Regions from separate parts of the Homo sapiens genome. Here region 1 is linked to region 2. The links are contacts of gene promoters, found by promoter capture Hi-C in human tissues and cell types (Jung and others, 2019). All regions are on one chromosome and are shown on one strand. The core of a region is centred on a gene start or on the middle of the fragment in contact, and the rest is flanking DNA. Distances in the headings are between cores, read along the strand shown. Region 1 has its middle 310 kb from the start of PCSK5. Region 2 holds the start of FOXB2 (forkhead box B2).

Region 1 (5,073 bases), core at 2,162-4,661, 1.4 Mb after region 2:
TTTAGAAATTATCTATAAGAAAATGGAAAGACTCAACAGCCATTTATATCATCTGAAAAAACTCACTCTCCCCATAGATAGGTGTGTGTGCACATGTATGAGTGTACATGTGAGAGTGTGTACAGAGAGAGAATATGACAGACCATGAGAGAAAAAGAATATCTGCTTTGTGTAAAGCACAATGATGGGGTACATGATGATAATTGAAAAACAGTCTGTACTTTCAGAGTTTCCAGTGTATGGCTAGAGGTAGATATCTACACAAACACAAGAGGAAGCTGGAGAAAGAGGCATGGGTAGAGCTGCTGAATGTAGGTTAAGAGCAGCTGCATGGCAGCATGGGAACAGCCAAGGGTTTAGGGTCAAATGAACCTGATTTCAAATCCCAGTGCAGCTTTTCTGTGACCTCAGCCAAGTGGTTAACATTTGCTGTGCCTCGATTTCTGAGTCCCTAACGGCTAGCAGCACCTGACTCCTAGAGTTGCAATAAGGAGTAGAGATAAAGTAGGTAATGTACCAAGCAGACGATAGGGGCTTAATAAATGAGAGCTATTATTATGGAAATGACCAGCCTCTGCAAGTTTGCTAATTGAGTTCTCTGTAACTCTACCTGGAATTTAAAATCGACAGTCCCTGCCCCCAGATGCAAACTGATTTTTATTCCAGGAGGTTGTCTCCAAATCAGAATGTCAGGACGGGATTAGTTTTCGATGCTCTTTAAGCAGTGTGGGCTGGGATAGAGGTTCTGAGGTCAGCAAAGTGTGTGAAAACAAAGGGCTAACTAAAAGCCCTGTAGTTTAATACCACCTAGTCTGATCACATGTGAAGAAGGTCCAAGATAATGGTCCCTGTTCAGAAAGGTTTTCCTTGAGAAACTAAACATAGAATTACCATATGATCCAACAGTCCTATTACTGGGTATAAACCCAAAGGAATTGAAATAGTTTGATGTGCACATTCCCACATTCACTGCAGCATTACTCACAATAGCCAAGATAGGGAAACAGCCTAAGTGTCTGTCAATAAATTATTTTTTAAATGTGGCGTATGTATACCCAATGGAATACTATTCAGCCTTTAGAAAAACAGGAAATTCTGTCATTGGCAACAACGTGAATGAACTTGGAGGGCATTATGTTAAGTGAAATAAGCCAAGCACAGAGAGACAAATGCCATATGATCTCACTTATATGTGGAATCTAAAAAAGTTGAACTCATAAAAGGAGGGAGTAGAATGGTGGCTACCAGAGGCTAAGGAGAAGGCAGATGGAGGAGAGATGGGGTGGGGGAGAAGGGAGATATTGGTCAATGGGTACAAAGTTTCAGTTAGACAAGAGGAACAAGTTCTGGTGTTTTATTGAACAGCAATGTAGCCATAGTTAATAATAATGTATTGTATGTTTCAAACTAGCTAAAAGGGATAATTTTAAATATTTTTATCACAAAGAAATGATAAATATTAGAAGCGATGAGTATGCTAATTAGCCTGACATGATCCTTTTACGGTTGATACATATATGTTTCAAAACATCACATTGTACCCCATAAATATATACAATTATTATTTGTCCATTAACACTCAAACTAAAAAATAAAAGAAAGGTTTTGACACACATGCCAAGAAATTACTGCACTTTTTAGAAGGTTAGATCTGTATGTGCTGCCGTAAATGACTGTCCATGACGTAGTGACATGTGAAAAATTATAATGAACACCTAAAGTTTTGTTTCACAAATCCATTCTTTCAGCTTCTGGTAATGGAAATGTGTTTTGCCTAGAATCCAGATCTCCCCTTTGTTAATGAAGGTGCCCTGGCCAAAAGGCAGACTCATCACCTGAGCTAAGCAAAGCTGACGCCTTCCTGGGAGTTTGAAAAGGGGAAGAACTGATGTATGCTTGTGTCAGAGCCCTAAAGATACTCCATGGTTTCCTGCTACTGCAAAGTCCAGAAGTGCTCTGATTCTTGTCCTCTCCAAAGATCCTTACCTCACTCTCCAACCTTCGCTTCAATTCTTCCTTAGGGAAGAAATATGCATTAGTGCCTCAATGGGCATTCCTTCATGTCCTCTACATGCAGATCTGATTCCTTACCATTTTTTCAAGTAAATAATTTTTCTAAGTCACCCAGAGTAGATTTCTGTTGCTTCCAAACAAAGAACCCTAAAGTACAGTGATAAAGTAACTAGCAATGTGTTTATTCTTATATGTATATTTTAATTCACTGACTTTATAAATTTTTATACTAAAATTTTCTTATTACATGTATTATTTTGGTAAGTAAAAAGCACTCGGCTGGGCGTGGTGGTTCATGCCTGTAATCCCAGCACTTTGGGAGGCCAAGGCAGGTGGATCACCTGAAGTCAGGAGGTCAACACCAGCGTGGCCAACATGGTGAAACCCCGTCTCTACTAATAATACAAAAAATTAGCCGGGCGTGGTGGCGGATGCCTGTAATCCCAGCTACTCAGAGGCTGAGGCAGGAGAATTGCTTGAACTCAGGAGGCAGAGGTTTCAGTAAGCCGAGATCACACCACTGCACTCCAGCCTGGGCAACAAGAGCGAAACTCCATCTCAAAAAAATAAATTAATTAATTAAAAGCACTCATAGATGAAAAAGAAATCTAGGTAGAAAGTAGTGTTCACTGAGATGAAATAAATCTGACTTGAATCCTCCTTGCAAACTCGGAGCCATTTTCACTGGAAGGTGGGGAGAGCAGCATTTATAGCCATCTTTCACAAGGCATGTGAGGGAAGGGGGCTTTCTACTGAAGGGGGAAGAATGGGAAGCTCAATGGCATTAGCTGCCATACAACCTGCATAAGACTGGCTTGAGAGTTCTACAAATTTTCCAGAAAGCTGACAATTCATTCTCAGAGAAAATCTTAATCTCTGGGGTTCTGCATTCTCACATGCTACCTCTGTTCTACACCATGTAATTCCAATGTAGAATGCATTTCTTTCTTCTTCAGTTTCCAGGGAAAAACAAACACATTAAACATGACTTGGGAACTTAGCAGTCTTTACTTGGATGGGTGGAGGTGGTCACAAAGATGGGTCATGTCATCTTGAGTCTTCCATCTGGCTGGCTCCTCTCTTCTCTTCCTCCTTCCTAACAGATTGTCCTCCTGAATGCCAAATGCTTCATCTTTTATGCAAAATTAATCTTCCTTTCCCTGTAATGTCTTTACTTCAGCCAGCCTAGGGTCCCATACATTTTCTCAAGTAAACCAGGATTTTCATGGTATTTTTTTAGACAAAAGAATTTGTCTGAAATTCCTTTTTCTCTTGCTAAAAGGAATTCTGATGCCACCTGTTAGGAATTCATTTTTCTCTGCCTCTCACATTCACATGTAATGGAAAAGGGAAGTAAGCTTTGTGGAGGGAATATATATATGTATATAAAATTTAGAGGGACTAAGCAAGAGGAGGAGACCTTGGGATTTTAGAAACAGAGAAAGGCTTATCAGAGCATTGCCTCAGCCAGAGAAATTTCATGACTGCATAGTCTTTTTGCTGATTCAGCAAATATTTATTGAGTGCTTATTATACGTAAAGAGGCAATCAGCTATGCACTGGGGAATTTAAAAATAAATAGGGCATGCTTTAAAGAGCAAAATGTCTAAAAGGAAAGATACACACATGAACTAATAGGCACAAGACAGTGCTACAATGAAGGACTAGATGAATTTAGAATAACTTGTGAACAGAAGCCCAGGCCTGTCCCAAATATTTGGGGCCTAGGCAAATTTACAAATGGAGGATCACGTACCATACGTCTAAATATTTAAAAGTTATAAATCAAGTGAATAGACTGCTAAATAAAATAGGTTCTACCCTTCTACCTTGACAAATAGAATTTCATAAAGCCTGAAAGGCCAGATCTGAGTTTAGAATCCTTGACACCTCAGAGTTGAGTCAGATCATGGCAGTGCAGATAGCTGGTTTGTGGATCCTAGCCTGAGGCCTTTGACAATCTTCCCTTCTTTTCCCACCCCCTATTCCTTTTCATACTTGTATGTATGTGGACACCCAGGCTGCGTGTACAAGTTCCAGCCATGGCCTCCACCAACAGCCACTTCTTAGTCACCACTCAGCCTAGGATATACCCACCAGTGGCGCCATCTTGTCCTTAGTAGCGATAATAGAGGTAACAGACCCACTCAGGCTCTAAAGGTAGGGTCAGACCATTTAGAAAGGGGATTCCAGGGTCTTAGATATCAAAGCATGGTCTAGAAGAGGGATACACCTCTGCTTGGGCCCACCTAGTTGGCTCCAGGGACTCTTCAGCCTATAATGTGAGCCACAGCCAGAACAGGGCAACAGCAAGGCCTTCTGGAGCACCATTACCTTCTTGCCTGGGTCAAAATCCAGTATTTCTTAAGCTGTTTCACCATATTTTTCTTGAGATCCTAAACTGCTTGTAGCTTTCTAGCTTCAGATGTACTGGTTTTGTGCAAGAGAGAATACGTATATTTATTTGGTTTTCAGCCCTCACCTGACGGATCCTTGAAGAGATGTTATTTCTGGACTTCCAAGCATTACAGTTCTATTTTCCAGTAATTCTATGGGCTAATAAGCTACCATCAGGGAAGGGAAGATAGGAAGAAATTCTTCTTTTTGGCTGCAAATCCCAATATAGAGTCTGAAGTATAACAGGGCCATCTTCAATGACAAAGGACAACATGTTTTCAAGCATTCCTTTCAACCAGACATTTTCCTATCCATTAGCTGTTTTCACTGACTGCTACGTGCAGGCCAGGCTTGATCTAGATCAGTTTTCATCAGGGTCACAAGGAAATAACACAGCTTAGGTTGAACCAAAGCAAGGTGACTCCTTCACTGTAGGTGTGTTCTATCTGCCCACCTGTCTATCTTGTCATTGTCTTAATTCCCAGTTTTGCTTGGCTTTCTTATTTTTCAAAAGTTTTTCTTTTTCTTTCCTCTCAGTATATAGCTCTTCCAGCTTCTCACCATTTCCATCAACTTCTGGCCACTTGCCGTGTTTTGTTTTCTAGTAATTGTGCCCTCCTGGCTTCTGTTGTCTCCCCAGCCTGATGTGTTACTGTCCTGACC
Region 2 (5,234 bases), core at 1,231-3,730:
GAATTGAAACTGAAGAATTAATTCGCCTGAAAGACATAAGCGCTCAAACAGCACACGGAATACAAAAACAGCCGCAGCGTGCAAAGGTGACTGGGTGGTCCCCTTGCTTCCGTCCGAGGAGACTGGAAGGGAACAGCCATGGAACGTTTCTGCAAGCGTTAAGAGCAATATTGTCGAGTGATGTGCCGAGTTTTTCCTGCATTCGTAAGTTAGGGAAACAAAATCCCGCTATACAAGTGATTTGTTTCCTTAAAATTCCAAATAGAAAGGATCGTGGGAATTCACATTATTCTTGGGCTCTCATCCGACTGATACCCAAACAAGTTGCAGGTGGAAAGTCGCCTGTATTGTCTCCCTTTGGTTGTGTTTCCCAACTTTTGGAATTTGGGGCTTTACCCTTTAAGCTGCTGCCATTCTCTTTTGTACAAACTAATTGCTCTAGAGGTTCCTCCTATCCTTCTTGACCCCCAGGTCAGAGCCAAGAACCTTAGCTGTTTCCCAAAGATATTTCGTGGGGTTCCCGCTGCCTCCTCTCCTCCCCTTCCCCCTCCAAAGCGACTTTATTCATGACACCGTTTCCTTGCCCATTTAGCTGACTAGGAAAATAACGGTATCAAACGCTTCCTCTTTTCCTTCTTAAATAAAACGAAATTTCCTTAGTGGACGGCAGTTTTGTCTTGAATGTTCACGAGAGGCGACCGCCGAGGATGCGACCAGCAGAGAGAAACGTGGTGGCTGAGATCCGTTTCAGCGTCACTCTCTGTTGGATTCTTCGCGGGAGGTTTAGCTCTGCCAGCTTCTGCTCCCAGGAATAAGGGTCAGAATCGACTTCCAATTTACCAGCGAATGAGGCTTTCCTAACCTCCTTCGTTCCCTCCCCCCATAACTTATGGATTTATATTAATTACAATAGAAACTCTTACCTGAAAATTGGCTTTCATTAATCTGATTGTACAACATAGTATAAACACAGACACCAGGAAGGTTATATTTATTCAGACCACTGGAGAATCCACTTTTCGGGGTTGTTCGTCTATTTAAATACCTTCCGTTCCAGCAAAGGCTGAGACTCGCCAGCTCTGCCCGGCCTGACCAGGGCGCCCTCTCCCCGTCGGGTGGTTTGGGCGGTTCCGGGCCCGGCGTCTCTCACCCCGCTGGTCTCCCCACGCCCGCCGGGTCCCCTAGGAGTGCACTAGCACCGAGTGCAAGGAGCCGCCCTTGCTTTCGGCCGAGGTAGGGGCTGTGGGCTCCAGCAGAGAGGCAACGGGCGAGGCCGCGGCCGCGGAGCACACGGTGGATGGCGCCGGAGGCTGCTGCGAAGCCGCGGGGACAGTGAGCCCCGGCTGCAGCGCGGACACGGGCGGCAGCGCAGGCGTGGGCTTGATGGGCACCGGCATGGCAGGCAGGCTCTGGCTTGCCGAGTGGCACAGGGACTTGACCGGGACCCCGAAGGCCCCATACTCCGGGCCTACAGGGACTCCGGCTGCGGCTGCGGCGGCCGCGGCGGCGGCCACCGAATCCATGACGCCAACGTGCGGCCACACGGAGCTGACGACGTTGCCAAGCTGGCCGGGCACGGGGTAGCCCAGGTGGTGCATGACGGACGCCAAGGGCAGCCCTCCAGCCTGCAGCACGCCCTTGTAGTCCCGGCCAATAATGTTCTCAATGGCAAAGGGGTGCTTGAAGCCTGACGTGGACGCCGCGGCCGCGGCGGCAGCGGCGGCGGCCGAGCCCAGCCCGTAGGGTGGGAACTGAGACAGGCGTCCCACGCTGCCCACCGCGGCTGCCGCGGCCGCCGCCGCCGCCGCCGCCACGGCCGCCGCCTCCTGCATCTTGCCGGGGTGAGACGGCTGCTGAGGCTGCGACTGCTGGGGCGGTTGCTGCGGGGGCTGTGACGGGAGGTGCGGAGGCGGCTGCGGAGCAGTAGGCGGTTGCTGATGGAAATAGTGTACCATGTGCGGCGGCGGCGGGGGCGGCGGCGGCGGCGGCTGGGGTGGGTGGTGGTGATGGTGGTGGTGTGCGGCAGCGTGGTGATGATGGTGGTGGTGGGGGTGGTGGTGGTGATGGGGGTGAAGGTGCCCTCCCGGACCGGCGCCCGGCGCGCTCTTGGTGCTTCCCGCGTGCAAGTGAGTATGGTCGGCGCGCAGCACCTTGAAGCGCTTGCGACGCCGCAGGAAGCTGCCGTTCTCGAACATGTCCCCGCAGTCGGGGTGCAGCGCCCAGAAGCTACCCTTGCCAGGCTGGTCGGGCCTCCGCGGAATCTTGATGAAGCAGTCGTTGAAGGAGAGGTTGTGGCGCAGGCTGTTCTGCCAGCGCTGTGTGTGCTCGCGGTAGTAGGGGAAGCGCTCCATGATGAACTTGTAGATGTCGCTCAGCGGCAGCATCTTCTCGGCCGAGTGCTGGATTGCCATGGCGGTCAGCGAGATGTAAGAGTAGGGCGGTTTTTGGTCGCTGTACGAGCTCTTCCCCGGCCGCGGCATCGCCCCCGGCTCCTCCACCGCCCTCCGGCCCGCACTGGACCACAGAATCTCTCCGCACTCCGTTCCTGGGGCCTGGCTGCCCCCACTAATTCCCACTCGGCCCCTCCAGTCCCGCCACTTTGCCCTCTCGCCCTCCAGGCCCTCTCTGCTTCTCTCTCCTGCCTTCTCCGAATTGCCTGGTGTCTCCGACCTTGGCCTTTCGGGCCTACTCAGCTCTCGGAAGCTGGCAACTTCTGGCCCCGACGGTTGCCGACTGGCGCGCACAGTCGCGGGCGGAGTGCACCAGGTTTACCGCCGCCTTCTCTGCGTCTTCCCCCGGGTGGCCAAAGACTGAGTGCTGGAGCTGGCTGCAGAGGAGAGTGGCAAGGGGCCGTGTTTCCTCCCGGCCTCTTTGCTTTTTCTAGGTCCGAGGGAAACCCAGACCAAGATGGCTGGGAGGAAGGTCTGGGCAGTAGAGACTCTGGCCCTTTAAATCTGAGTTTGCGCCTGCTGTCCTGGAGGCCAGTGACAGCAGGACTTCCAGTGCCCTGGACGCAGGCCCCTGGCCAGGCACTTAGCCAGACCGCGCTGGAGTTCTCCTTTTCCTGGAGTGAAAAATCAGGGTAAGGAGAGAGAAGATTGGCTTCTAGGGCGCCTCTCTTTTCTCCGAGGCTCGCAGCGTCGCCGGGGTTAGAAGAGACGCGCAGCCCTAGGCTGTCGCTGAGGAGAAAAAACTTTGGTGGTTTCTGAAGCGGCAGCGCCCGCAGGTTCTGCTGAGGAGTGTGGGGCGCAGGACTCTGGGAGCGAGCGGCGGGCTGGAGAGGGCGTCTGCGAATGCTGGGTGAGTGCTGGCCGGGGAGGCTCAGCCGTCCGCGCCGCAGCTGCCGCCTTTCTCCCGGGCTTGTCTTGAGGAGGAGAGGCGACGGCAGTGGCAGCGACGCGCTCTCCTGGCTGCGTTTTGTAATGGTCCCCGAGACGCCGAGACCCCCGCAGCTAGCGCTTCGAGACTATCACATGACCGAGGCTGAGGGACTCAGCCGCCGCCGCCGCGTCTGTAGCTGAAGAAGGGGCAAGAAGGCGCCGTGCCTCGCCCCCGCCCCCTTTTCCACCTCGTTTCGGGCGCTCTCCACCCATCGCGTTCACCACTCGCTCGGCAGCCCCCAGCCACCTCCCGGTGCGGCGGGTGGCGCAGGCTGTTCGCCGGGAGGGGGCACAGCTCCGGGTGCATTTCCCGCAGCTGCGCCCCACCCGGGCCACCAAGCACGGTGGAGGGGGAACAGGACACTGCCTTCTTGCTTCTCTTCTCTCTGGCATCTCCCTCTTCCGCCCCCTTCCTTTTACCCTTCCCTGTTTTCATCTACTCGCTGTGAGCTTCTCTCTCCTTACAAACCCTTTTTCCTGGGCTAGACACTCTGGGTCAAGTTCAGAGTATCGTGTCCTCAAGGCCTCTTCTCTGCAAGAAACCCCGATGATTAGAGGGCTGGAGGGAAAAACTCATGGGGAAGAAAGCATGGGGTGTTTTCACCAAATGCCAAATTCATCTCAGTTTTATTGCGCGCCAACTGCATGTGAGGCACCAGGTGCAGGGAGACAGGAGACAGTATCCGAGCTCCACCATCGCGGTATAGAGGGTGAGACGAACAGTAACCAAGAAATTAATAGAATAGGCACTAAAGGGCTTGGCGAATGGAGGCTCCACCACACTTTCCTGGAGCGAGTGAGTTGGACAAGATGAGGTTTCTCTGGGATGGCGATGTCTGAGCTGGGGCCAGAAGTAAGAGTTGGGGATTCAGGGGTCCCATCACCTGTGTGTGCTGGAAGGAAATCTTTGCTATTCTTAGCACGGTGGTGTGGGGCCAGGGCGAGGCAGGAGGTGGAATGGAAATAATTAAATAGGAAGCAAAAATTATCAGTCCACAGGATCCTGGTGTGATCTGCGAGGGAGAGGTGGATGAACCCAGGAGTGAGGTCCTTCTGCTTGGAGGTTCCTGCTCTGCACTCATCCAAACACCCAGCAGGAAACCCCAGTTTACTGCAGGGAGAACCTGAAGTTGTATACTCGTTTTGGCTACCTTTGCCCTTCAGCTGGGAGGAAAAGCAGAGTTTAGAAACAAGTATACTCTCCGTCTCTGGGACTGTTTCATTATTTGTAAAATAGGGTGGCTGAAGTTGGAAATTCACGGGTCCTTTCCCGTTAGGCGATTTGAGGAGAAAGGAGCATTTGGACACTATGGCTCCCTCGGTTTTCCCACGCCTAACCTGGAAGAAAGCCATCGGCCCAGCTGCTTGGGGGGCTGCCCCCTAACTAGCAACCTTGGTGACACCAGATCGGGTGTTTTCAGCTTCTGGCTTTTGGTGAGCTGGACGGTGGGAGCACGTCTGTCCGTGGGGTGGCTTAGCCAGGTCGCAGGAGTGCCGTGAGCGGGTCAGGCCCGTAATTTCCATCTTTAGTCAGGAGCTAGATTTCTGGCTAGCTCTATGTGGCCAGTTTGTCCTAGGCCAGAAGACGTCTGAGAATAGATGTTACGACTGAAGCTTGCAAGAAGGCCCGGGGAAAAGAGCAGCTTCTTGGTCCTAAGCCCTTTTCAAAGTAAGATGTTTTCTCTTTCACTGTATGTCGGAAGCTTTCCTCCTGCCATAGGAGTTTCTGCGCGATTTTTGTCCGCTGAGACACTTGAGAGAGCCGAGCAGCGGACAGCCTCTTGGCCTCGGGAAGCCACAGAATTCCAAGGACGCTCACAGTTTGACAAGAGCCTGCTGGAGCCAGGTGGCTCC

Evidence for each region. Contacts are between HindIII fragments. The study calls those that stand out against the background at their distance.
Region 1: a fragment that was not itself captured here is called in contact with the fragment with the promoter of FOXB2 in region 2 in 1 of the 25 tissues and cell types used here (IMR-90 fibroblasts).

What each region holds. Positions count from the first base shown.
Region 1 is chr9:75,573,219-75,578,291 of GRCh38, reverse strand. No RefSeq gene overlaps it. Among named protein-coding and RNA genes, the nearest start is that of PCSK5, 310 kb to the left of the region's middle. The HindIII fragment of the contact is 6,061 bases long and covers 381-5,073 here.
Region 2 is chr9:77,016,901-77,022,134 of GRCh38, reverse strand. FOXB2 (forkhead box B2) reads right to left here and starts at 2,480. Exons shown (of 1, transcript NM_001013735.1): 1 at 1,182-2,480. The coding sequence starts at 2,480. The coding sequence ends at 1,182. The HindIII fragment of the contact is 6,747 bases long and covers 1-5,234 here.